Linked DNA regions of Homo sapiens: regions 1, 2, 3, 5, 6 and 7 are each linked to region 4. Evidence: promoter capture Hi-C in 16 types of primary human blood cells and fetal thymus (Javierre and others, 2016). All regions are on one chromosome and are shown on one strand. Each heading gives the region's core, a stretch centred on a gene start or on the middle of the fragment in contact. The rest is flanking DNA. Distances are from core to core; before and after follow the strand shown. Region 1 holds the start of INTS6-AS1 (INTS6 antisense RNA 1). Region 2 has its middle 56 kb from the start of C13orf42. Region 3 overlaps RNASEH2B (ribonuclease H2 subunit B). Region 4 holds the start of KPNA3 (karyopherin subunit alpha 3). Region 5 has its middle 68 kb from the start of RNASEH2B-AS1. Region 6 has its middle 49 kb from the start of RNASEH2B-AS1. Region 7 holds the start of NUDT15 (nudix hydrolase 15).

What was found. Contacts are between HindIII fragments. The CHiCAGO score rates a contact against its expected background, and 5 or more counts as called.
Region 1: a contact is called between the fragment with the promoter of INTS6-AS1 here and the fragment with the promoter of KPNA3 in region 4, in 4 of 17 cell types (monocytes, total B cells, activated CD4 T cells and 1 more). The highest score is 10.6, in monocytes.
Region 2: a contact is called between a fragment that was not itself captured here and the fragment with the promoter of KPNA3 in region 4, in 1 of 17 cell types (naive B cells). The highest score is 6.8, in naive B cells.
Region 3: a contact is called between a fragment that was not itself captured here and the fragment with the promoter of KPNA3 in region 4, in 10 of 17 cell types (naive CD8 T cells, naive B cells, total CD4 T cells and 7 more). The highest score is 9.3, in naive CD8 T cells.
Region 5: a contact is called between a fragment that was not itself captured here and the fragment with the promoter of KPNA3 in region 4, in 1 of 17 cell types (total B cells). The highest score is 5.8, in total B cells.
Region 6: a fragment that was not itself captured here is called in contact with the fragment with the promoter of KPNA3 in region 4 in 1 of 17 cell types (naive B cells); the score reaches 5.1 in naive B cells.
Region 7: the fragment with the promoter of NUDT15 here is called in contact with the fragment with the promoter of KPNA3 in region 4 in 10 of 17 cell types (non-activated CD4 T cells, neutrophils, total CD8 T cells and 7 more); the score reaches 21.1 in non-activated CD4 T cells.

The regions. Positions count from the first base shown.
Region 1 is chr13:51,451,974-51,455,730 of GRCh38, forward strand. INTS6-AS1 (INTS6 antisense RNA 1) reads left to right here and starts at 1,372. Exons shown (of 2, transcript NR_103812.1): 1 at 1,372-1,445; 2 at 2,030-2,743. It overlaps INTS6 (integrator complex subunit 6), which reads right to left and starts at 1,063. Exons shown (of 18, transcript NM_012141.3): 1 at 442-1,063; 2 at 5-82. The coding sequence starts at 552. RefSeq lists silencers at 89-208, 219-488, 729-988, 1,219-1,418, 1,509-1,828 and 1 more and an enhancer at 1,049-1,098. The HindIII fragment of the contact is 2,653 bases long and covers 1,219-3,757 here.
Region 2 is chr13:51,053,396-51,056,932 of GRCh38, forward strand. It overlaps the pseudogene GUCY1B2. Among named protein-coding and RNA genes, the nearest start is that of C13orf42, 56 kb to the right of the region's middle. The HindIII fragment of the contact is 1,409 bases long and covers 1,583-2,991 here.
Region 3 is chr13:50,913,134-50,916,863 of GRCh38, forward strand. The region is part of intron 1 of RNASEH2B (ribonuclease H2 subunit B); the gene reads left to right. Among named protein-coding and RNA genes, the nearest start is that of RNASEH2B-AS1, 4.3 kb to the left of the region's middle. RefSeq lists an enhancer at 1,770-1,859. The HindIII fragment of the contact is 765 bases long and covers 1,205-1,969 here.
Region 4 is chr13:49,791,289-49,795,161 of GRCh38, forward strand. It overlaps KPNA3 (karyopherin subunit alpha 3), which reads right to left and starts at 1,394. Exons shown (of 17, transcript NM_002267.4): 1 at 1,150-1,394. The coding sequence starts at 1,218. RefSeq lists enhancers at 1-428, 433-1,094, 1,095-1,756, 1,560-1,689 and silencers at 550-1,119, 1,240-1,489. The HindIII fragment of the contact is 6,989 bases long and covers 1-3,873 here.
Region 5 is chr13:50,977,111-50,980,859 of GRCh38, forward strand. No RefSeq gene overlaps it. Among named protein-coding and RNA genes, the nearest start is that of RNASEH2B-AS1, 68 kb to the left of the region's middle. The HindIII fragment of the contact is 1,672 bases long and covers 1,443-3,114 here.
Region 6 is chr13:50,957,410-50,961,374 of GRCh38, forward strand. It overlaps a transcript of RNASEH2B not described here. Among named protein-coding and RNA genes, the nearest start is that of RNASEH2B-AS1, 49 kb to the left of the region's middle. The HindIII fragment of the contact is 1,556 bases long and covers 1,586-3,141 here.
Region 7 is chr13:48,036,412-48,040,002 of GRCh38, forward strand. NUDT15 (nudix hydrolase 15) reads left to right here and starts at 1,315. Exons shown (of 3, transcript NM_018283.4): 1 at 1,315-1,493. The coding sequence starts at 1,336. It overlaps LOC124903172 (a long non-coding RNA gene), which reads right to left and starts at 1,581. Exons shown (of 2, transcript XR_007063788.1): 1 at 1,195-1,581. RefSeq lists enhancers at 443-1,319, 1,320-2,195, 1,362-1,601, 1,652-1,811. The HindIII fragment of the contact is 6,950 bases long and covers 280-3,591 here.

The DNA.
Region 1 (3,757 bases), core at 122-2,621, 1.7 Mb after region 4:
TTACCTTGATAGCATAGGGCGGCTCTTCGAAAGTGACCAGCATATACCTGTCTCCTCTGCTGGCAGGGTCCCGGGCACGGAGCTGCGGGACGGGAGGAGGAACAGGGCGGGCGACAGGGAAGCACAGAGGCGAGGTTACGAGGCGGAGAAGGGGCGCCCAGCGGCCCCGCCGCCCCCACAGTACCGCACACGCAGCGGCCACCCCTCCACGCCGTCCCCCACACACAGATCGCTCCCCACACACCGCCCGGGGCCGGAGCCCGGGCCCCGGCCGAACCCGGCTCGCAGCGCCCGCCCGCCCGCGCGGTGGGGGAGGGGGTCCCCGAGCCCGGCAGCTCCCGCAGTCAGGTCCCCGACACCCCCGCCCCGGCCGCCCTCCCCCACCCTGCCGCCCGCGGGCCGCCGGGCCGGGGTCGCCGCCCGGGCTCGGTCAGTCGGTACCTTCATGAAGGTCTCTACCGCGCCTTTGGCCGTGTCCAGGTAGGTGGTGCCCAGATGGCTGCGCTGGTTCATAGAGGCAGACGTGTCTATCAGGAACAGTAAGATGGGCATAGTGCTGGCCGGGGACACCGGGGCCCGAGGTGGTGGAGAAAGAGGAGATGGTAGAGGTGGAGGCGCCGGTGGCGGCGACCGCCGCTACGCGGGGCGGGGGAGCACGGCCCCCGGGAGGAAAACACTGTCTGGGTCTTTCCTCCGGCTGCGGGGAGTTTCTCCCCCGATAGTTGAGAGGAAACTCCCCAGACCCAGTGCTCCCCGTCGTACCCCCGCCTCCGCCTCCTCCTGCCTGCCTGCCCGCTGGGGCGGGCGCCCAGCCGTCTGTCTGTCGGTTCGTCCCCCCCGCCTCGGGGGTCCCGTCCCCGCTCCCGGCCCCTGTGTGTGTCCCAGCGGGAGACGGGCCTGGCTCCCCACCCCACCCCCGGTACAGGAGTGGGGACCTGGGAGCTGGCGAAGAGGGGAGTGGGCTGAGGGAAGATTGGCCCTGGGGCTGTTGGGAGAAGTTTCAGGGACTCCCTCCGCACCCCGGCGGTGTCACCACTTTCTCAGCCCCTCTCGCTACTGAAGCGCTTTTCTCTCTCACACTCCGGTTTTAACTCGGGCAGGGGCTGCGGAGGCTCCGCCCCTGACACGTCCCCGAGCCACGTGATACACCGCCTCGCCGTTCTACTGGTCAGGCCCTATCCTTTCATTAGCATATTTAAACAGCTCAGGGGCGGGGGAAGCTTGTAGGCCGGCTCCGGGGACAGTTATTGAGCACGCGCAGAGGCGGGGCGTCGGGTGCGCGCGAGCGGGCGGGCGGGCCGACCCGGAGGCGGGCTTCGGGAAGGGGCGGGGCCGGACTGCGGAAGGACCGCGAGGTGGGGGCGGGGGCCGCGTCCGCGCGCGCGGGGCGGCCGCGGCGGTGAGCCTGCGCGTCAGGGCCGCCGGCCTCTCCTTGGCTGTTGGAGGTGATAGGGGTCGAGGGGAGGGAAAAAGGGGCTGGCGTCAGCCGCCCCTGTGAGGTGGCCGTAGCGTGGACGAGTAAGAAGGGTTGAGTAAAGTGGACAAACACCTGGTTAGGAGAAGAGGGCAGGCCCGCAGCCGCCCTCCGGAGGAGGACTCGGGGCCTCGCGGGCGCCGGAGGAGGTTCCTGGGCCTCGGAGGGCCGCCCCGGCGCGCCGCCCCGGCGCGAGCGGGCGCGGGCGGGGGAGGGGAAGTGAGAGGTTGTTTATGACCGGGGACTAATCTCCTCCGCGAGTCCCAGCGCTCCCTCTGGGGAGTGCGGTTGAGGGGCTGTCCTCGCACGGAGCCTCGCTCGGCCTCGGGGGAGCCACGAGAGGTGGGAGTTGGACCCGCAGCGGGCCAGGAGCCCTGTCATTGGAGGACCCGCCAAAAAGGAAGCAAACCCTCTTTTTCTTTATCCAACCCCAAATAGCTAGGGCCTAGGGGGAAGACTCACATATCGATAAATGGTTTGTTGCCCGTTTTATTCTCTGGGAAATACAACTGATCTTACCAAAGAAATAACCTGTCTCTTGCCGTGTTTACTTAGAGCCATAGAATACCTGTTTCAGAGCTGAAGGGGACCTGAGCCCATGATAATCCATTACCTCGTGAGAAAGCGGAAAAACTGACTTCAGCTTGCCCAGATGGCGCAGAGAATGGGTTTCCCGTAACCCCGCCTGTGTCTTTCCTTCAGCCTCGTCCCAAATGCCGTGGGAGGGAAGGCACTCTCTGTCAAGCTGCTGTCACCTTACCTGAAGTAAGGAGTCCACGCCTGCATGTCCGAGGAAAACAGTTTTCTCAAACACATTAGTTGAAAAACTGAAGACGCTGCCTAAAATACAAGCTGAGTTAGAGACAGCCCTTGTAAGACTAGGTAGGTATTTACAGGGCCTCTCCCACTAGCTTTGTTTTTCCAGAGTTTGTTCTTTATCCGGAAATTCTTAATTTGCCTACTGATCATTTAAAGAAAGGGTTCTATTAACATTGACACAGAAGAGACACTTTGTGGCACTTTTTAAAAATCTGAGTCTCGTGACTTGGTATAACTTCTGAAACTTACTGTTAATTTATAGCAGAGCTATTTGAGTAATATGCTCTTCTATGAGTATGAACAATAGAAGAAGTGTGATTTTTAAAGTGATTTGGACTACAAAATAAGAGCATGGAATATAGGCTTTACAGCCAGTACTTGCTGAGGATGTACTGTGTATTAGGTGTGGTGCATATAAAAAATAAATAAAATGTGGTCCCTGTCTTCAAAGAGCTTATGTTTTCTAGGAAAATGCTACATATTACTAGCTACTCCAAGGCAGAAAGTTGTTAGACACCAAATCAGAAAAAATAAAAATGTATTACCTTGGGGTGATGCAGGAACATTTTCCAAGGTTTCAGCTTTGCCTTAGTGTTTCTTAAACGGATCATAGATCTGAAGATAAGAATCAGAGTTCTATGGCAAAATACGAGTTATTTTACCAGTTATAAAGATGAAATTTGTCTTTCAACTTGATCATTTGCATAATTTTATACAATTGCTCTTTAGTTCTTTATATTTGTGCTTTTCAAACTGGTCTGTGGACCCCAGCCTACTGAAAACATTCTCTAGGATCATAAGAATTTATTTTAGGAGTCTGTTCATTATTCAGTTTTAAGAAACACTGTCTTAAAGGACTGGTAGGATTTGGATATGGGTAAAGGAAGGGGAAGCTGCTAGTGAAAAGATCTTCCCGACATTGAAAATGTGAAGAAAGGAAGTTAAGACAGCATTGCTGAGGGCTTCCTGAGGAACAGTGAAGTTCAGCTAGGTTGGAGCAACAGGTGCATGTAGAATAGTACAAGATCTAGAAACACAGGTGAGATCTAGACAGTAGAGGGCCTTTATTCCAATCTATGGAGGTTTTTTTTCCCCTATAAATTGGAGATTTATTTTTCAATTGCGTTGCTAAGTAGAAGCAATGTTTGAAAGAAATCAAACTAGACTACTGAAGATTAACATGCGTTCACAATGACCTTACCTATTATTACAGTTATTCGAAATCATTTTTCAGTGGAGCCATTGTCACAGGATCCTTGGAGTGTCACTTTTCCAGCTGGAAAAATGGCACCTCTGCCCGAATTTTGGTCGGGCTCATTCTGCCCACCAGTCCCAGCAGGCTGCACTCTGCTCATACTACGGCCTGGATCCCACACCTGCCAAGTGCAAGCCAGGTGCGGAGCAGCGAGGGGTGTGTGAGCGAGCAAGCATGGGGTCCGGCCACTGTATACAGCCCGGCATGCC
Region 2 (3,537 bases), core at 1,037-3,536, 1.3 Mb after region 4:
GAAGAGTATTAAATTCTTCTTCCTTCCATATTTTCTTCACAAGTTTCAACCAAAATCATATCACAGAATACATACATTGCGGAAGATGGAATCCCACTTCCATTACTTCCATTAAGTCAGATATTAAAAGAGATTTCCAGAACTGTAAAGTAATGCCATCTTGTCATTAATTTATTTGAATAATATAGTTATCATAAAAATGTTACACTAACATGTACTATTATGTATTACAGCATAATTATATAACATATAATTATTTTAGATAAATTTAAAAATGTTTTTTTAATTTGTTTTAATTTCTAATACCATAAATACCCATAGATTAAACAAAAGCTCTGTGGGGTCTTCAATAATTTATGAGAGTATAAAGGCTTCTGAATACCAAAGTGTTTAAGAACTTCTGATTTAAATCAAGAGTGCTTCAGGTTTGCTTTGGAAGCTAATGAAGCTGAGGTTTCCAGGACAGGGAGGAAGCAGCCTCACCTGGCCCCCTCTAGCTTGAAGCCATCCCCAGCCTGAGGGGTCACCTTATATGCCCTGGTAGTGGTCCTGGATGCCTGTGGGTGGGGCTGCAGACCACCCAGTCCTCAGGACCACTTGCTTCTGGTAGACTCAACACACATCCAGACTCTACTCTAACCCCCAAAAAGGCATCTGAAAGAGAGGCTGCGCATTCCCAGTGGGGACCGCCTGGTCCAAGAGGACTTGCGTAAAAGTAGGGGAGATGGGTGGAACAGGTCGAGGGAGATCAAACGCTGGAGTTTTCCCAGGACTTGCCAACATGAAAGAAGCACACTTCAGCAAGAAACTGCTGAGAAAGTTATGGATGTGCATAAAGAAATTTGTCTAAGCTAACAATGAAAACAAAATACAATAAATACAATTTTCAGCCAGCCATGCTAGAATATTCATTCTATCCTCTTTATAGAAAATGACATTATAAAATCATTGTCCAATGAACAGAAAAAGCAAAATACAGCCAAAGATGCAGGAAAGTATTATAAAAGAGGGTTAGTTAATTTATGATACTAACAATAAAAACATGTTTCCAGCTTTTGATGTTTATGTTATCTGTCAGCTTTAAAGTTTTCTTCCTTAATTCTAAGAAGAGTACTTATTTTTGTAGCTAAATTTTTATTGGTAATTATATTCTTTTTAAAGGAGGCTTCCCAAATTATATAAGCTTCAGGCCTCGTGATATCTGTTTCTACTCCTACTAAGTTTATCTTCCAGGCCCTGCGCAGTGGCTCATGCCAGTAATCCCAGCACTTTGGGAGGCCAAGGTGGGCAGATCACTTGAGGTCAGGGGTTCGAGACCAGCCTGGCCAACATGGTGAAAACTTGTCTCCACTAAAAGTAAGAAAATTAGCCAGGTGTGGTGGAGTATGCCTGTAATCCCAGCTACTCAGGAGGCTGAGGCAAGAGAATAGCTTGAACCCTGGGAGGCAGAGGTTGCAGTGAGCCAAGATCGCGTCACTTCATTTCAGCCTGGGCAACAGAGCGAGACTCCATCTCAAAAAAAAAAAAAAGGAAGAAGAAAATTTATCTTCCATATAGTCATACTAAACAAAAGTATTTCTCAAGCTTTACCTTTGACAGCTTTTGTTAGAAAAAAATACTTCTGCTTTGTATATTTAATATTATAATATTCACTATATTTTTAGAATTTCCCACAGATATTCTCATATGATCTTTTGGAGGCTGAGTCCTCCAGGTGAAATGCTCTGACCAGATTGATTTCTAAGGGCCCTTCTGGCTCTGAGGGGCTGTGGTTTCAGGCAGCTAGATGAACCAGCAAAAATGTTTGTGGCCAGGAAAGGGACAGAAGTGGGGAGACAAGCAACATTTTTGGATCAAAGTTAAAAATAAAAACTCTCTGCTTTCAGCTACTTTTAAACTAGACTTTATTTATGGGAAAAGTAGATAACATGGAGGGCCAGGGGTTTTCAGTCTTGAAGAGAGGGTGAGAAATTTGGTGAGTCAATTGGATGGACGAGGGATAGCAGAAAAGGGAATGAATGAATTCTGACTTTTTCTGGCTCAATTAGCTTTGCGATATACTGGGCTCGAAGGAATGCTTCTCAGGATGTCACAATGTTAACAGCCTTTTTTTTTTTTTTTTTTTTGAGATGGAGTCTCACACTGTCACCCAGGCTGGAGTGCAATGGAGCGATCTCGGCTCACTGCAACCTCCGCCTCCCAGGTTCAAGCGATTCTCTGGCCTCAGCCACCCAAGTAGCTGGTGTTACAGGTGCTGGACCACACCTGGCTAATTTTTTTATATTTTTAGTAGAGACGGGGGTTTCACTATGTTGGCCCGGCCAGTCTCGAACTCCTGTCCTCATGATCTGCCCGCCTCGGCCTCCCAAAGTGCTGGGATTACAGGCGCGAGCCACTGTGCCCGGCCAGCATTTCCTATTTAGCAAGAACAAAAATCCCAAGGATTCATAATCAGGGTTCCTTGATTTTTTTTAGATTGTAGAGTTCTTAGAGATTCTGATGAAAACTATGAACCCTCTCCCCAGAAAATACATATAGTCACATGTACACGACATTTTAATAGATGACTTCGGAGGGTTCTCAGACCTTCTCAAGCCTATCCATGAACCTTTGGTTAAGAACCCATGACATAGAGAGAAGCCATGTAATCCCACCCACCTCTCTCCTAAATGGGTTGGTTGGGCTTGGTAGTCATCCATCCACCTCTCATTCATTTATTCATCTTCCATTCATACACACATGAATCATCCAATCATTCATTCCGTTTTCATGTATTTATTTATACAATGGAGAATATACGTCAGTCCTGATGGCTCTACCCATTACCTCTTCTTAGAGACCCCACCCTCCAAAGTCCATCTGAATGGGATACATATGGACTCCAGACCAAAGACCATCAAACCCTCTTTCTCAGGCATCTGCAATTGAGGCACTGAGAAACTGAGCCAGTCTGATGATGGTGATCTCTTGAATCCAAAGGGCATATAGAAAAGCTTGGAAGAAACAGAAATTAAGTCCAATCATGGTGGCATATACCTGTAATCCCAGCACTTTGAGAGGCTGAGGCAAGAGGATCACTTAAAGTCAGGAGTTTGAGACCAGCCTGGGCAACAAAGCAAAAGCCTGTCTCACCAAAAAATAAAATAAGATAACCAGGCACAGTGCCATGTGCCTCTTATCCTAGCTACTCAGGAGGCTGAGGCAGGAGGATCACTTGAGCCCAGGATTTGAGGCTGCACTGACCTATGAACATGCCACTGCACTCCAGCCTGGGTGACAGAAAAAAAAAAAAGGAACAGAAATCAAAAGACTTTCAGAGAGAAGAGATAACCAGGAAAATAGAGTAAACGTGAAGGGAGATGCAGAGTTGGAAACAGACCTGCTGACTTTCTGTTTCCTCTGAGATTTATCTGTACTTCCTGCAATTGAGTTCTGTTAGAGTCTTCTGAATCTTTATAGTAACTCCTTTAAACATTAGCTTACATAGTGGATTGCTGATCCTTGGAAGTAAAATCCTGGACTAAGTTCTGCAAACAA
Region 3 (3,730 bases), core at 337-2,836, 1.1 Mb after region 4:
AAGCATTTCTTTTAGTTTGGGATGGTCTTAAATGTTTCTGTAAAATGGCCTGGGAATACTAGCCTGTTTGCAGTTTTAATTTCTATAAGAGGCCATTACTTTACTTTTTGGAAAGTAGTATAAGTTTCCATCCCTCTTTTTCTGCCCTAAAAGTAAATGTTTGAGTCATATTTTTAATGTTTTTCTTAAGTCCATTTTTCTTGTTAATGCTACTAAGTTGGGATGTACCCAGGTGTGAGAGGTCACCTGATTCATTGCGTTTAGAAGACTGCATTTATTGCTGTTGGGGGCTGAACAATTAATTGGGTTCATCTCCAAGGAAATGTTAATTGGGAAACCCTAACATTGTGTATTGAAAAAAAAAAAAAGAAGAAAAATCATTTCAGGCCTGTTAAAACAAAACTCATTTGGGTTCACTTAGGCTGATTAAAATATTCCTTAATCAGCCCCCTGATTAAACAGTCCTGAGGTGAAACTGCACCTCAACTCGAATTTTCAGTTAGAGACAAGTTTTGCAATAAAGTTATCCCCCTTTATTTCATGAATATACATGTTAAAAAGTATTTTAGGAAAGATTGCACTTATTATTTATTTCTCCACAGAAAGCAGTTTCATGGAGGTAGAGGATGGGTTGCTTTTTGGGAGATAAGAATCCCTGTCTACCTTAGACATTTCAAATACAATAACAGCTTTTTATGTGAGGCATCGTGATAATCACAAATGATTATACCAGAGCTATCTTTCCAATTGGAATGCAAAAATAGATGTGGAAGGATTGTATAAATTCATGCATTAGAACTATGTTCTAATTAAAGGATTTAAAAAATAAATTTAAAAGGAAAAACTAATTTTCTTATTTAATGATGGAGAAAATTTATATTAATGTTATTTCTGATTACAGTCTTGAAGATTTTTTTTTTTTTTTTTTGGTCCACCAACTGGCATAATTGTAGCTTTTTATAAGTCCAAAGAAATGCCTCTTGTTTTGGGGGAGGAAAAAAAGTAAAGGTTTAAAGTGTATGGCAAAGGAAGAACTACTATAGATTTAACTGACTTTTCAGTGACACTAAAAAACACTCTTTTCCCTTCTTTACCTAATGGCTCATGGTTAATCTCAGAAGAAAAAGTTAAGCAGGATTTTTGTTCTTTGTCAAAACGGTATGTATGTATATGTTTGTGTTTAGAAATATACGTGAGGGCCGAAAGCTTCCTTATTTTCAGAAGAGATGAACTTCACTTGGCACATGATAGAGAACCTGGCCAATTCAAGTGCTGATTTTAGACAACCTCGGAATAATTAAGCTCAGCTTTTTGGAAGATGTGTCATTTACCGAATAGTCTACTGCAGGCAGTCAGCAGTGTAGGAGTCTCAGAGTTTTCCAGCATAGAGCGTGTTTAACATTTTCCACATGAATCTCAGTCTGGCTTTGTTTTTGCAAAATGTTTTTCGGTGGGACCCGACTGACCTTTCTCAGATGGCCACTGGATCTGCTCCCCTTGCTATCTATCTGAGCACGTTCTGAAGTGGATGGACTTCAGTTGCCAGTTGGTGTAATCAGGCTGTTTCCAGAGTCTGATCTTGTCCCTTTAGTAACTGTTCCAAAATACTTGGGACATTTATAAGTAAGAACTCATGACTCCCACATATTTATCCTCCAGGTCAGAAAAAAATTCATAAAAGGAAAGCAAGCAGTGTTCATGATTTTTTATTTGAGTAACAGAATAGGGACTGCATGGATTCTCCCACATCCTCTGAGACTGTGATTTTAAAAAACAAACAACTCAGTCAGTGTGCTCCAAAGCCTGGCTATAATAACACAGACTTAAAAGCTAGATTTATGCTATTTATTAGCTCTGTGTCATTGGGTGGTTTACTTCCTCACTATAAAGCCTCACTTTTGTCATCTCCACAGTGGGGAGAAGAGTACCAGTCTCATGGGGTTGTTATCTGTGGTTTGAGTTACTCATAAGCTTTCTTACACCTCAAGCTTTTAGCCCTGGGCCTGGGACAGAGTAGATATTTCAATAAATATTTACTGAACGAATAAAAGTCTCACATTCCATTTCTTCCTGCAATGTCTTTGCTTATTCTGCTTTTTCCTCCCCTTCTACTTCTATCCAAATTCTACCCTTTCCTCAAGGTTCCATTCAACTTTATTTTCCACAAAGCTAAGCCATTTGCTCCAGCTCAGCTTCTCCGTCTTGACTTTGTGTCTGCCTGGAATCCTGCCTGCTCTTCACTTTATCTACCTGGCAAATTCCTACTTATCCTTTAAACCCAGCTCAAGTATCACCTCTACCAGGAAGCCTTCCCATGGGTCTCTCCTCTTGTTACTGCCCAGGTTCGTGGTACCTCTTTGACCACCTACACATTTCATCATGATTATTCATTTAAGTGCCATTTTTATATAAATATGTATTGAACACCTAATACATGCCAGGAGCTAGAGAGAGTCCAAGTGTGTTTTCCCTGAGTGGCCATTTCGCTTCTCAGTGTGGGCACCTCAGCCTTCTGCTTCAGAGCACAACCTCCAAACAGTAGAGCATGTCACGTAGGATTTCCAGGCCTTTATTCAGAGCTACCTTTATGACTTCCTTGTCTAAGGATGACTGTTTGCTAAAGCAGAATGGGCCACCCCGTGGCAAGGGGATGTAAGGGATTTGGGGCTGCATGTTCTAGTCCCTGTTTCATTATCTGTCCCCGAAACAGCTAAGCTGGAGGCTGGCTTACTCCTCCGAGGGCCTAGGTCTCAACATTTGGTAAGGCTCTCCTGCATGATTGGCTACCTTTGCCTGATTGTTTTTAAAGATTTTTTGTTATTGTTGTTGCCTTTTAACCTTCTTTTGACCAGTTAACTCTACATTTACACGTTTTTCTCACAGTGGTTTTTTTTTTTGATAACTTTAAATAATTAGAATAATAATATTTACCCAGTATAGAAATTCTAGTAATATGGGGAAAAAAATAAAGAATAAAATAATTTGTCCATCATCCTCACCCAAAATAAAAATTTTGGAGATATTTCTTTCCAGTTTTTTCATGTTGTTTACATTACAAAATGAATTCCAATCTTCTTAAATTTTTTTTTCTTATTTTTCTATTTTTGCCTTTATTTCATTGTTTACCCTTACTACTTATTTAATGTAACACTAAAACACTCAGGGAGATTGGGGTTACATAAAAGTTTATATGGTGCTGTTCTACATAAAATTGGAGAAAGTTCAGTTGATTTAATAGAGGTAGGGGCTGTTTTTTTCCTCTTAATTTTGATAAGGACAGAAACTCACACAGTGATATGAAACAAGTTGACAAAGAGAATTTGTATTTTAGGCTTTGAACATTGAAGAGGTGTAATACTTATTGCTTCAGACAGTAGACAGTACATATTTGGAATGGGTTATCTTTGAAAGTGGATAAAGATTGAAAATACAAATAGGTGCAAAAGAGGTAAAGATACATTTACAGAGCTGTATTGGACCCAATGGCAAACTAGGATGTTTCAAAAGCCATTCAAAGCAGGTTACATTTTTGAGGACAACCATAGCCTCCTGCAAACATCCCTTGGTGTGCTTTCCTGAAACCGGATACTGGTTTGAATAGCCTGTGAGTCTGCCTTAGTATGGAAATTGCCATTTTTTAATGTGGGGTCAGTGCACCTGGGTTGTGTGTTACAAAATCAAACATGAACTTCTTTGGGAGTTCCTTAGCAGGTTCACATCCTCCCAGGAA
Region 4 (3,873 bases), core at 144-2,643:
CATGTCGCCTAGTATTAGCAAAGAAGGCTGCGGCCTTAAAACCATTTTCCCCCTAACAAATCCAAAGGTCACGGTCCCAGTGAAGTTTGTGCATTATACTTACTGTTTTCAGTAGCTGCAGAGAGACCTCTAGCGCTGCCTCAATAAGCCGAGTTTGCAAATAGTACCTGCTAATGTCACCTTAATGAGACAATGGCAACATGCTGAGTAGCAACTAACTGAGTGACCGCGATGAATGTTTAGTTTTGCAACCACTTGGAAATTCTACTAGCTTGGAGCAAGAGGTATGTAAGAGAATTATGAACCTGTGTATCCAATTTATTTTAGTAAAACGTGTCAAAGAAATTATCACCCTATGCACACCCCACTCCAAGAAAGGCTAAGAAAACAAGTCCTATGAGCGGAGGTCGGAGCAACCTCTTTTCCGAAGCCTGAACACAATAGATGGCAAACTATTGTCCACCTTCAGCTCGCTCCAAATGCCAGCAGTTGCAGGAGTATGAGCTGCAACAGCTCGGCACGACTAGTCCAAAGACGAGCACTGGAATATAAGAAAATGGTCCTGGCGCATCCTACCCTCCCCCATCGATCACCCTCAAACAAGTCAGTTACCCGGCTGGTCCCCACCCCCCTCTGCGGGCCGCCACCGCCCGCCTGGGCCCGGCTCGCAGAAGGTAGGAGCCCGGACCGGCAGAGCCGAGGCTCCATGTGAGCCGCGCGGGAGGCGCAGAGGGGGCTGCACCGGACGGAAGGTTGCACCGGTGGCGGGCGCAAGCAGCGGCCGCCCCCTCGGCTGTGCGGTCGGAGGGCCCGGGCGGCAGCATCCCCGTTCATCCGGGCGGCCCTGGCCCGCGGACCCCGCCTCAGCTCCACATCCCCTCCTCGCCGACACCAGGCCGCGCCCGCGTGACGGGGCCGAAAACGCCGGCATTTCCCGGTCGCCGCGCCGGCAGCTCCGGGGGGTGACTGCAGCCCGGCCGGCGTCTCGCCGCCCGCTCCGCCCAGCCCGGGGCCGCGGTGACGGGAGGCGGCGGCCAACTCCGGCCGACCACAAGCCGACGAGAACCAGCCCGGCGCCGGCCCCCCGCCCCTCCCCGCGTCGCCGGGCCGGCGCGGCCAGGCGGGCCCAGACCGCGGAAGCACACTCACTTCCACATCGCGGCCCTTGTTCTTGAAGCTCTTGATGCGGTGGTTCTCCAAGCTGGGGTTCTCGGCCATGGCTGCGCGCGGCTCCGGCGGCGGCTACTCCTGCGGCTGCGGCGGCGGCGGCGGCGAATCTTGGAGCGGGAGGGGGAGGAGGGGGAGAGCGGGAGGGGGGAGGGGAGAGAAGAGCACGTTCTGTGACGCCTCCGAGCGCGAGGTGGCAGTAGCGCCGGGGGAGGCGCGGGCCGACTGCCGGGCCGGGTGGGGCGGGAACGGTGCTGAGAGCGGCGCGCGGCCGCGGAGGCTGGCGACACGTGACCGGGGGCGGTGACCGGCTTGGGCGTTCGCCGGGCTATACGTGCCCGTTGGTTCTCGGGATGACCCTGCCCTCTTCCCCTGCAAGGGCTCTCCACAACCCCTCGGTGCTGCAAGTTTTGTGCCAGAAATGGAGCCGGACCTGGCGACTTTTACTGCCCCTCAGGCGCGGGGCGGCGGTCGTCAACTACAGTTCCCATCATGCCACGATCCGCCTGGAGTAATTCTCCACGCCTAGTGAGAACGAGGAGAATGCCGGGACCCTTCCGCGCGCGGCTCTTTGCGCGCCGCGCTCATGTTGCTGGGCACAAAGCTCCGCCCCCACAAGGCCGCCTCTGGGCGGGGAAGAGCGGGGGAGCGTCCCTGGCACCTTGCGCCCTATCAGGAGGAAGAGGGCGGGCCTTCCTGGGAGCGCACCTCGCTGCCTGTAGCTAGAAGATCAGAAAAGGAACAACCGCGAGTGCTTTGCAGTCTCGCTTTTTTGGGGGTCTTCTCAAATAGCCACCTTCATTCGCTCTTCCCATGCTCTGCTTCAGTTTTATAAATAGCATTTCTACCTGACATGTACATGTGTATGTATGTGATACGAGTGTTTATATGCGTTACCTAGGTGCCCGCGCGGAAATTCAGCTCAATGAGAGCAGGTACTTTGGTTGAATTACTGCTGAATCTCTAGTGTCAAAACAATGCCTACCACGTCGTAGATACGCAATACTTGTTGAACTGGCGCTTTAGTGTCGCCCAGTTTCTTCATCATCCTTCCAAGCCCGGTTCTGCAACCTTCACTCTGGCAGTCCCTGTATTTACATGCCCCCCAACACTTCTTGTTCTACCACCACACAGAATCTTAGCCTTCAGGCAGCAGCCCAGCCCTGGTCCGCAGACTCTCCTGTGTAGCACTCCCACTCCCTCTGGGGGCATCGAAAGAATGAAAGAGGGAAATTTGGATGGATTACACTGATAAAGAGCTGCTTTCGGCCGGGTGTGGTGGCTCACGCCTGTAATCCCAGCACTTTGGGAGGCCGAGGAGGGCAGATCACAAGGTCAAGAGACCGAGACCAGTCTGGCCAACCATGGCCCGCATGGTGAAACCCCTTCTTTACTAAATATACAAAAATTAGCTGGGCGTGGTGGCGCATGCCTGGAGGCTGAGGCAGGAGAATCGCTTGAACCCGGTAGGCGGAGGTTGCAGCGAGCCGAGATGGCGCCACTGCACTCCAGCCTGGCGACAGAGGGAGACTCTGTCTCAAACAAAACAACAAAAACAACAACAACAAAAACAAAAAGCTACTTTCTGGAGCAGGTGGGCTTCATTTGCTTGTATGTTAATTTTCAGAATCTATGGTAGACATGAGCAGGTATGTAATGTTGTAGTACTTATAATTGAACTGAGGTCAAAAGTTGGTAGGACTATACCATGAAGAGATCAAAAAGGACAATCTTTAAAGCGAAAGGGCCTTGGCTGGGCGCGGTGGCTCATGCCTGTAATCCCAGCACTTTGGGAGGTCGAGGTGGGTGGATCACAAGGTCAGGAGGTCGAGACCAGCCTGGCCAACATGGTGAAACCCCACCTCTACTAAAAAAAATACAAAAATTAGACGGGCATATGGCGCATACCTGTAATCTCAGCTACTTGGGAGCCTGAGGCAGGAGAATTGCTTGAACCTGGGAGGCGGAGGTTGCAGTGAGCTGAGATCGTGTCACTGCACTCCAGCCTAGGCGACAGAGTGAGACTCCATCCCCAAAAAATAAAAATAAAAAATTCAAACAACCCAACAAAAACATGCAAAGGACACTGATCACAGAAAAAGAATAAATATATGAGGAGATACAGAAAAAAAAAAAAAAAAAAAAGCGAAAGGGCCTTAAAGAACCTGAGGCCCAGAAGTCAGGAATTCAGAAGCCTTTGGTGGCCAAGCTATGTCCAGGGGCATTCGTCTTGTGAGTGGTGGGGTGTGGCCTATTGATAAACACAGGCTTCAGATCCTCTGGTCATACTGGACTGTGGCCCAGTGTTGCCAGAAGATTCCACTTTTCAAGGAAAACCAAAAAGGTAGATTCTTTTTCTCTTTATTTTTAAATGTTAATTCACATTTTGTTAATGGACTTAAGCATTTCAGTCACTTCAGAATATCAGGTCCTCAGTTTGCAACACCTGATCTTAGTCTAACCACTCATTTGAAGGGAAACACACACACACACACCAGCTATGAATTTAGAAGGAATACATTAGGCAGGGCACAGTGGCTCATGCCTGTAATCCCAGCACTTTGGGAGGCTGAGGTGGGAGGATCACCTGAGGTCAGGAGTTTGAGACCAGTCTGGCCAACCATGGCCCACATAGTGAAACCCTTTCTCTACAAAAATACAAAAATTAGGCAGGCATGGTGGTGCATGCCTGTAGTCACAGGTGCT
Region 5 (3,749 bases), core at 1,029-3,528, 1.2 Mb after region 4:
TGATTTATCTTTCCTTTGTAACACCCAGGGAGATTGCTCAGGGAATGGAATCTGTGTCTAGAAGCAGTGTGAGGTAAGGCTATTCATGTCTTGAAGTCAGACAGAGGAGTTTGGCTTTGAAGGGATGGAAATGTAGGTTCTCAAACAGAATAAAGAGCCATAAAAAGGGAGCTACAGGGTTGCCAGGTGTAGATGGGAGGCTCTTATGGAGAAGGTGGAACTGAGCTGGAATGAATGGGATTCAGGCAGGTGCAGCCCAAGGCAAGGCCCAAGGGAAAGAAAGGAATTGACAACACCTTCCCTGTCTTCAGAATCAGAAGCAGTGAGAATTCAGCAAGGAAGTAGTCTTAGCTCTTTGGGTTTGAAGAATCTCTTTGGGATATAATTTCACTTTTTCTCTGCCTGGTGCTAGAGTCTAAAGCTGGCAGTGGAAATTCCAAGATAAGTTGTTCTTAGAACCATAAGGGCTGGCTAACAGGCCAGTGGGGACACAGCCTAGAGGGCCAGCAGCTATCTGGGGGCCCTAGGGTTGGACAGGCCCAGGCAAGGTGAGGGCAAAGTCAGGTGACTTCATTTACCCAGGTGCAAAGAAAGGCGTCAGCCTTCAAAGGCTTTCCATTGTTAACAAGCAGACCAGAGGCAACTAATCACTGAATGGAAACTGATAATTTTGCTGCTCATTTATTTTCCCAGTTAATGCTTTTCTTTTTTTTTTTTTTTTTTTTTTTTGAGACGGAGTCTCGCTCTGTCGCCCAGGTCGGACTGCGGACTGCAGTGGCGCAATCTCGGCTCACTGCAAGCTCCGCTTCCCGGGTTCACGCCATTCTCCTGCCTCAGCCTCCCGAGTAGCTGGGACTACAGGCGCCCGCCACCGCGCCCGGCTAATTTTTTGTATTTTTAGTAGAGACGGGGTTTCACCTTGTTAGCCAGGATGGTCTCGATCTCCTGACCTCATGATCCACCCGCCTCGGCCTCCCAAAGTGCTGGGATTACAGGCGTGAGCCACCGCGCCCGGCCCCCAGTTAATGCTTTTCAACACAACCCTTTATATTTCCGAAGAATAAAGACTTGTAAAAGAGATGGGGGAGTTATGGCTGCAGAAAACTGGCCCTTACTTTGCTCTGCTGACAGTTTTATAAGGCCAAGGAAGTTCAAAAAGTAAAAAGACTTTCTAAGCAATTCCACAGAAATTCTAAGCATTTTCAGGAAACCCATTTTTAACTTTAAAAAAATATTAATACAAGATTAGTTGCAGTGATTTAATTAGTAAACCATGACAGATGGTTAACATGCAGCATTTTTTTTTTAATGTGAACAAAATCACCAGTTTTTTTTTCAGTTTGTTTTTTCTTATTAATCTTGGGTAAAGATTCCTTGGGTCTTCAAAGATAACTACTCAGTCTACTTTTTAAATGGATAGTTTGTCTGAATAATTTTGTTAAAGCTTTAGTAAATGAATGTTGGGAGTGTAATTTCCAGAGTACAGGCTGAATGCAATGACCCCTAACACAGCCCAGATCTGGTCACCATGGACTGATGGCAGAGAGGATCCAGATATTTTGGTTGGATTCATGATTAGAGACTAAATCAGTATGATGCCTATGAAAAGGTCTGGTTTTTAAATATTTGCCATGGAGCTAGAGTAGAAGGCAGGGTGACAGAGGCAGCGGTGGCTGGAGTGTAACCAGCCCATGAATCTCAGGCAGGACAGGCTTGCATGCTTCTGTATATTTCTCTAGGAGAGAACACTGGGCTTCAAGGCTAGTCTGTTCTGTCTTCAGGCTCTAGGAATCTTCTTGTCAAACCCCTTCATTGGAAAAATGGGGCCTAGAAAGATTAGATGACTTTCCCAAGTGATAAGCTAAGAAAATACCCCGAATGCTTTAAATCCACCTTGAGGCTTCAATGTCTATGTGCTCTATAAAGTGAATCCCATATTGTTTTTCTTTAAAAGATTTTCAGAAATAGCTGCCTTTTACCCTTTACTCACACTAAAGTTTTGAAATACTAATGTTTCTGATTTGAAGATGGAGGTGGGAAGTTCATCCTCTATCCCCACCTCCCACCCCCAATCTCTTCTTTGAAATCATCCAAAGCAAAAGGAAAATAAGAAATGGAAACCAAAAAATCAATTTTCAGCAAAACTAGGAGGTATTTTAAACTATGAACAACAAATAGATGGAAGGACTGCAAAAAGCAGGGGAGCTTCCAGGAGAAAGAGGAAGGAAGAGTTCATGGCTGTGGAAATGAGACTGAGTCAGCAAAAATACATTTGTAAACAGAGAGGGCAGAGGTGAGGAATAAAGTCTAAGTCACATGTTTATGACAGAAGGAACCAGTATACACACCAGAACAGCAAGAACTCTCCAAGACCCAATTTAGTTGTGAAATGAAGAGGTGATGGAGTTAAAAAAAAAAAAATCACACATCCACATCACATTTGCAGGAACTATCTATCTCAGTGGCAGAGGGAAAGAAGAGAGACGTTGCTTTTTAAAAATCCCCATAGCTACCTGTCTTTATTGATCAGGGAGAAATAGAACTAAAACTTGCATGCAAAACCCTGGTTTATAAAGAAAATTCCTACTAGGCTGGGATGAGGCCCTGTAAATATTTGGCCCAAGGAAAACTCTTGTGCCTCAAAGATGAGAAACCAAAAAGAACAAACCCAAGTTATTTCAAAGATATGAAACATAAAACAAGAAAAAAAAAGACCAGAAAAAGTAAATGGCAGATAAAGTGTTGCCAAAGAGCAGATAAAAATAGTAAAAAGCATTTTACTACAAACATAAAATACTTAAACAATTACCTCTATGAAGTTTGGGCACAAAGTAGAGAGGGAAGAATCATGGAAGTCACAGAAAGACAAGTGATGTTGTTTGAGCTGGCGCACTACAGGGTAGGCATGGGGGAAAATGTAAACCATCAAAGAAACAAAGATGTGTTTGAAGGAAGATAGACAATAATAATAGCACAAGAGCTCAGAGGTTAAAAATAAGAAAACCAAGCAAAATGAAATTGATTTGGGTACAGGAAAGATTTATTAAACAGGACAAAAAGGTGAGCAAAATACTGATTTTTTAAAACCTGGTGATTGTAGAGTTCAAAAAAACAAGCTTACTTGTAAATATTAATGCAAAAATATTAAATAAAATATTACCAAATAGACTCAAACAATTCATTAAAAGAATAATACAATGTGACAAATTGGGGTTTATTCATAATATAAAGATGGTTCAATATTAAGAAGTCTTACCATATTAGTTATCTAAGAAAGAAATAAGGTATTATTAATCTCCTTAGATACTTAAAAGATACTTGGTAGCACTTCTTCTTGTCGCCATGTGAAGAAGGATGTGTTTGCTTCCCCTTCCATCATGATTGTAAGTTTCCTGAGGCCTCCCTAGCCCTGTGGAACTGTGAGTCAATTAAACCCCTTCCTATATTAAAAAAAAAAAAAAGATACCTAGTAAAATTCAACTGCCATTATTGATCTCAAAATAATTCAGTGAAATAGGAATAGATGTGTACTTCCCTAATTTATACAAAATAAAAGTCAACATTATGTTTAGTGGAGAAATATCAGTAGTGTTACCATTAAAGTCAGGAGTATGATAAGAATGTTTTAAACAAATAAGAGAGAGAAAATAGACATATACAAATTGAAAAGAAGTAAAATTATCATTACTTGCAGATCTTATATTTGCATAACCCAAGAGAATCATCTGAAAAAGATTATAAAAATTATA
Region 6 (3,965 bases), core at 1,114-3,613, 1.2 Mb after region 4:
TTTGCTGCAAAGGACATGATTTCATTCTCTTTTATGGCTGTGTAGTATTCCATGGTGTATATATGCCATGTTTTCTTTATCCATTCCACTGTTGATGGGCTCCTGGGTTGATCCCATATCTTTGCTATTGTAAGGAGTGCTGTGATGAACATACAGGTGCATGTATCTTTTTGGTAGAATAATTTATTTTCCTTTGAGTACATAGCCAATAGTGGCCAATAGTGGGATTTCTGGATCGAATGGTAGTTCTGTTTTTAGTTCTTTGAGAATTCTTCAAACTGCTTTCCATAGTGGCTGAACTAATTTACATTCTCACCAAAAGTGTTCCCTTTTCTCTGCAGCCCTGCCAACATCATCTGTTATTTTTTTACTTTTAAATAATACCTGCTCTGACTGGTAGGAGATGGTATCTCATTGTGGTTTTCATTTGCTTTGCTCTGATGATTAGTGATGATGGGCGTTTTTTAATATGTTTGTGATCACTTGTATGTCTTCTTTTGAGAAGTGTCTGTTTATGTCTTTTGCCTACCTTTTAATGGGGTTATTTGTATCTTATTGATTTGTGTAAGTTCCTTATAGATTCTGGATGTTAGTCTTTTGTCAGTTGCATAGTTTCTCTCACTCTAGGTTGTCTGTTTACTCTGTTGATACTTTATTTTGCTGTGCAGAAGCTCTTTAGTTTAATAAGGCCCCCACTTGTCAATTTTTATTTTTGTTGCAATTGCTTTTGAGCACTTAGTCATAAATTGTTTGCCAAGGCTGATGTTGAGAAGGGTATTTCCTAGGTTTTCTTCTAGGATTTTTATAGCTTGAGGTCTTACAGTTAATTCTTTAATCCATCTTTAGTTAATTTTTGTATATGGTGATAGGTAGGAGTCCAGTTTTATTCCTCTGCATATGGCTGGTCAGTTATCCCAGCATCATTTATTGAACAGGGAGTCCTTTCCCCATTGCTTATTTTTGTTGACTTTGTTGGAGATCAGATAGCTATAGGTGTGTGGCTTTATTTCTGGGTTCTCTATTCTCTTTCTTTGGCCTATGTGTCTGTTTTTGTATCAGTACTATATTGTCTTGATTACTGTAGCCTTGTAGTATAGTTTGCAGTTGGGTAATGTGATACCTCTGGCTTTGTTCTTTTTGCTTAGGATTGCTTTGGCTATCCAAGCTTTTTTTTGGTTCCATATGAATTTTAGAATAGTTATTTTCTAATTCTGTGAAAAATCACAGTAGTTACCTTTTTATAAACATTATTTTGTTACTATTTTCCCAGACTACTAACTGTTCTTCATAAATATGTTTTTTAATGACAGTATAATTTTTGATTATTTGGATATTTGATTATTTAATAACCATGATCCTGTTTGGACATTTGGATTATTCACAAATGTTCACTATTTGAAGAATCAGATTATAAGTAAATATTTGTCCACATATTTTATTGTTTCCTTATAATGGATTTTTGGATGTGGGCTTATTGGATTTTCAAATATATATTTATGGGAATATATTTCATGGAAAGTTTATAAGCTTTTGCACTCTAGGCTTATTTTAATGGTCTTGCACTCTAACAAACAGTGGGTGTGAAAGCTTAATGCCACCTTGTTAGCATTGGTTGTTACCTTTGGAAATAAGTGTAAAAACATTTTATTGTGGTTTTAATTCATATTTCCCTGATTAGTAGTGATTTTGAACATTTTTTCATACTTACTAATCAATTGTCATCTTATAGAGAATTGTCTTTTATATTCTTTGCTAAATTATTAGAGTATCAATATTTTTCTTATTGACTAAAAGTATTCTATAACTTAAGGACATTAATTATTTCTACTGTGTTTGTTGTAAATTTCCTTTCTTGGTTTATACTTTGCCTTTAATTTTGCCTATGATTTTTGACATGCAGGTGTTTTTAGTTTTTATGTAGACATATATACATAAACTTTTCCTTTACACAGATATTGTACTTAGAAAGATATTTCATTTTACAGGAAATTTAACCAGACACTTTTATTTTCTTCTGATTTTTTTAATAGTTATGTTTTTGGTTCTTTTTTGTTTTTTTTTTAGATGGAGTTTCGCTCTTGTTGCCCAGGCTGGAGTACAATGGCGTGATCTCAGCTCACCACAACCTCCGCCTTCAGGGTTCAAGTGATTCTCCTGCCTCAGCCTCCCGAGTAGCTGAGATTACAGGCATGTGCCACCACGCCCAGCTAATTTTGTATTTTTAGTAGAGACGGGGTTTCTCCATGTTGGTCAGGCTAGTCTTGAACTCCCAACCTCAGGTGATCCATCCGCCTTGGCCTCCCAAAGTGCTGGGATTACAGGCGTGAGCCACCACGCCTGGCCTATTTTTGTTTTATATTTAATTACTTAAATCATCTAGAGAATGTGTAATTATGTTTAAATATGCTGTGAGGTAAAGCTGTAATTTAATTATTTTCTCACCAGTTTAGTTTTTCATTTAATCTGTAGGATTATTTTGTCAAGTTCTAAGAGTAAGTTCCAATGGGATTTTTACTGAGATTTTGTTAGATGCATAACTTACTTTGGGAAAACAAACATCTTTACAAACTTAAATATTCTTATTTGGGAATATAGTATTTCTTTTTAGTTACTCAAGTCTTAAGAATACCTTTCACTAATGTTCGGTTCTTCATCTTCAATAGGTTCTAGACATATCTTTGTATGAGTATGTGTAGATATTTTCATTGCTATTAATGAAATCTGTTTTTTTCCAGCTAGGTCTACCAACTGGTCATTTTGTGGTAAAGTTTTATATTTTTATATATTTATCTTTTAAATAACCAGTTTACTAAACTATTAATGGAAAAATTTTCCATTTTATTTATTTTGGGTTTTAGTACATAATATAGTATGTAATTTAGTTTTTAAAAATTGCATGCAATTCTTTCTAATAGTTACACCTCTTTTATTATATATTTTACATTATATTACATGGGCTAGAATATCCAGAACAGTATTAAAGAGTAATAATAGCCGTCTTTGTCTAATTGGTGATTTTATTGATGTGCTTTACCATTAATTCTGACACTAGCTGTTGCTAATATGATAAAGACTATCCATCCTTTTATACTTAGTTTCCTTAAGGTTTAAATTAATAATTGGTGTTGGTTGTTATCAGAAAGCTTTTTGGCATCTATTGAGGTGTCTATAAAGTTTTTACTACTTACTATCAAACTGTACCCAAATGTCTAATAAACTCACCCTGGCAGTAGATAAAGGATCAATAGCATAATGGATACATCCTATCTTTCTTAACCTTTGTCAAATATAGTTTTCAATTAGACTTTCTACACTTTTATTAAGGAATTTTGCAGACATATTCATAAGCAATGCTGCTGTTAGGCTTTAGCGTTAGAATTAGGCTAGCTTTCCATTTTTTCCAATGTTCTGGAAGGATTCATTTTGCATTATTATATTCTATTGCTGGAAAATGTTTAAGAATCTTAGAGGTAAAACTATCTAGCACTGGAGCCTTTTTGTTGTTATAGTTTTCTTTAATCTGCAAGAGTTTCTCATCTGTTCTTTGTCTTACTTGACATTTTTGAGTACAGGGTAAATATTTGCTGGAATATTTCTTATTCTAATATTTCTTTTTGATTAAATTCAAGTCATACTCTTAGGGCACCTCCAGGAGTAATATGTCTTTCTCAGTACACCATGGCAGGAATCACAGTCTATCCCAATATCAGTGTTGTTGACTTTGATCACTTGATTAAGGTGCTGCCTACAGTTTTCATTGTGAATTATTGTTGATTATTTTTATAATTAATAAGTAATTTGTGGGTAAGTATTCTGGGACTTTGTAAGTATCCTATTTCTTATCGGATGTTTGCCCACTATTTTTAGGATCTGATGATTTTCTAACTTTCATTTCTTCTATATTTATCAGTTGGCATTCTTCTGTAAGGAAGAACTTTCCCTTTTCCTTGCTTCTTCCCTCATTT
Region 7 (3,591 bases), core at 65-2,564, 1.8 Mb before region 4:
GCTCAGAGATTTTGTGGAGTTTTTTTAATCACAACTGAGTATCGGATTTTATTAATTTTTTTCTGCATCTATTGAGATGATTATATGTATTTCCTTTCTCCCTCTGTTAATATGCTGAATTACATTGGCTTTTCAAATATTAAGCCAACCTAGTATTTCTGGGATTAATCTCATTGTTCAATATATTATCCTTTTTATATACTACCATTTTTTGAGAAGATATTGTAAGTACCTTTGTAATGAATGTGAATGTTGATAGTGAGGAGAGATGCTGTGAAAAGCTTAATACCCATTTAGTATAACATGGAGAGTAAGCATATTACTTAGAAATAAGTAGGCAAATATCAGAAATACAGTTCAAAGAGTTAAAAGTGATTGTTTCTGAAAGTAGGAGGGTCAGGTTGCTCTTGTTGCGGTTTTTGCACCATTTTACTTCTTAAAATTATAGCTATAGGTCAGGCGCAGTGGTTCACGCCTGTTATCCCAGCACTCTGGTAGGCCCAAGTGGAAGGACTGCTTGAGGACAGGAGTTGGAGATCAGCCTCGACAAAAGACCGACAGCCCACCTCCACAAAAAAAAAAAAAAGAAAGAAAATTAGCTAGCTTGGTGAAAATTAAAATAAAATAAAATTACCAGTATGTGCACATTACTTTGGTAGAAGTAAAAATAATGAGAAAGAGAGAAAACCCTCCCAGTAACTAGTCATTTGTTTTTATGATTCAGCTGGTTTGTATTTTGCATGGTGCATGGTGTGCAAACATCTGAAAATGTCTGTTTTCCACTGTTTGTAACTAACTCTTCCCAGCATGATTTATCAATTAGCCTTTATTTCCTCCCATGACTTATGAATATACCTTAAGCATAGTTGTTTATAATGGGATGTTTCTAAACGACCTATCCTTATCCTGGTACCACGCTGATTTGAGCTACAGGGCAAATGGGTGCACCATGGTGGGCGAGGTCATTCACGGAAAAAAGAATGTGCAGTGGTGCCGAGGTTGGTAAGAGCAGGCGGCTTGTACATGTAAATGCATGGTTTGCAGGAATCTGGGAGTGGATAGGCTGACGGGTGATGAATATTCAAAGCACAACTGTAAGCGACTTTAGTTACAGCGAAACTCTAAGGCACGCTGCCCTTCGGAAGGAAACACGGCATTCCCCAACCTGATAGCCCTCCGCGACGCATTACGCACCGCGGACAGCTGGAGAGGCCGAGGCGCTCTCGCTTTGATTTCGGCGCCTCCGCCCTCGCGGGGAGAGATTGGCTGCGGCCGCGGGACGGGGTAGTGAGCGCGTCACTTCCTGCCGCTGCCAGGCGCGTCCTCCCGCGCGCTATGACGGCCAGCGCACAGCCGCGCGGGCGGCGGCCAGGAGTCGGAGTCGGAGTCGTGGTGACCAGCTGCAAGCATCCGCGTTGCGTCCTCCTGGGGAAGAGGAAAGGCTCGGTTGGAGCTGGCAGTTTCCAACTCCCTGGAGGTCATCTGGAGTTCGGGTGAGCAGCCGCGGACGCGAGGAAACCGGGGCGTGCGCAGAGGGACGAACTCACGCCGTGCTTGCTTCCGTGTGCCGTGCGTGAGAACGTCCGCGCTGACGCTGCGTCCTTTCTTGCGCGTTCCCTCGGTTCCTCCCCTCGACTTCTGGGCGACGTAGGATCGCGCCCAGGAGGGGGCGCTGTGCTGGGTCAGGCGAGGTCTTTGCTAGCTGGGTCTTTCCGGCTGCGCCCCTGCTGGGTGGTGGTTGGGAGTTCGTCTGTGAGGTGTGTTTCTCACAGCTTACACACAAAAGGAGGAAAGCAGGTGTGTGTAAACCTCCAGCAGCCCGATATTGTCAGCTAAGACATTGCACCGTTTCCATGTGATTGATTGATTGATCGATTGATTGATTTGAGACTGTGTCTCGCTCTGTAGCCCAGGCCAGAGTGCAGTGGTGCTATCTCCAGTCACTGCAACCTCCGCCTCCTGGGTTCAAGCGATTTTTGTGTCTCAGCCTCCTGGTAGCTGGGATTACAGGCGCCCGCTACCACGCCGTGCTAATTTTTGTATTTTTAGTAGAGACGGGGTTTCGCCATGTTGGCCAGGCTGGTCTCGAACTCCTGACCTCAGGTGATCCACCCGTGAGGTCAATGACCATAGCCAACATTGAGCTCTAATGGGCTTTTTGTTAAAGGCTGGATAATATGCCAAGCTCTTTGCATGTATACTTTCATTTGATCTTTACATAACTGGCATACTCAGTGGGCTAAATTTGATGGGAGAACAAACAGGAAATGGTTTTATTTTCTCCTTCCACTGCCTTCAAACATGATTTTTTCTTTCCCTCTTCAGTGACGTTTCCTGCAAATTCTATAGTTTTCTTGTCACTTGGTTATAAAAATAAATCACATTTGGGTCAGTATGATTCACTTCCAAGCATTTAAAAGTCCAATCCAATTTAAACCTTCAGTGTCACTTCCAGTTTCTAATCCCTCCCCTGCAGTGCATAAAGGAGGTGTGAGCCATTGTTCTGCTTTTCTGTATCCTCCTCCTCTTCTCACCTGGCTGTCTCTGAGTTTCCTTCTTTCTCCAGTGTGTTGGAGGAGGAGAGAGAGCAAGCCATTCAGGTGACTGATGCTGCTCTGATCCATCCATTGGTGTCCTCTGGGCATGATATCCACATGTGTGCTTTCTCAGGGTATGTTTGTCAGTTGTTGGGAAGTCCCACAGAGATTTTCCTGACATAGGTGACGGGCTTTCTGTGATGCTGGCCCACCTCCTAGCTCTTGCTTTTAGCACATCACCCCACATTTTCTTTCTACTGGGATCTCCTATTTGATTACCCAGCAGTCTCTTGTGGCATCTGCTTGGCCCAAAGGAAACACACAATGGGAATGATATTTCCACTGCTGCCCTTTTTCCTTGCTCTACCTCTGTATTCATCTGCATCTGGAAACTCCGAGGGACACATTTCAGATTTACCCAAGAGCTTTCACCCTTGTAGCACACCTTTTCTGATGCACTGGGGTAGGCCTGTGAGTTTCTGCAGCTCAGGATGTCTTTAGCAGGGGAGTGACACACTGAGTATCTCCTTCTTGAGTCACTCCCAATCTTGTGACTGATTCTCTTGGAATGTTCCTCACCTGTCTTGGGGGGGCAGAGTTGGCCCCTTGTAGTCTGGAAGGGAAATGCTCCTACTAGGCTGAAAACTCCAAACTTTCCTCTGTCTCAAACATCTCCTTTTTTTTTTTTTTTTTTTTTTTTTGAGACGGAGTCTCGCTCTGTCACCCAGGCTGGAGTGCAGTGGCGGGATCTCGGCTCACTGCAAGCTCCGCCTCCCGGGTTCACGCCATTCTCCTGCCTCAGCCTCCCAAGTAGCTGGGACTACAGGCGCCCGCCACTACGCCCGGCTAATTTTTTGTATTTTTAGTAGAGACGGGGTTTCACCGTTTTAGCCGGGATGGTCTCGATCTCCTGACCTCGTGATCCGCCCGCCTCGGCCTCCCAAAGTGCTGGGATTACAGGCGTGAGCCACCGCGCCCGGCCTCCTGTCTTTCTTATGTAGCCTGGATACGGAGAAGTCACAGGTCTAGTCTGGCCTTCCTTAGCTTGAGCTTG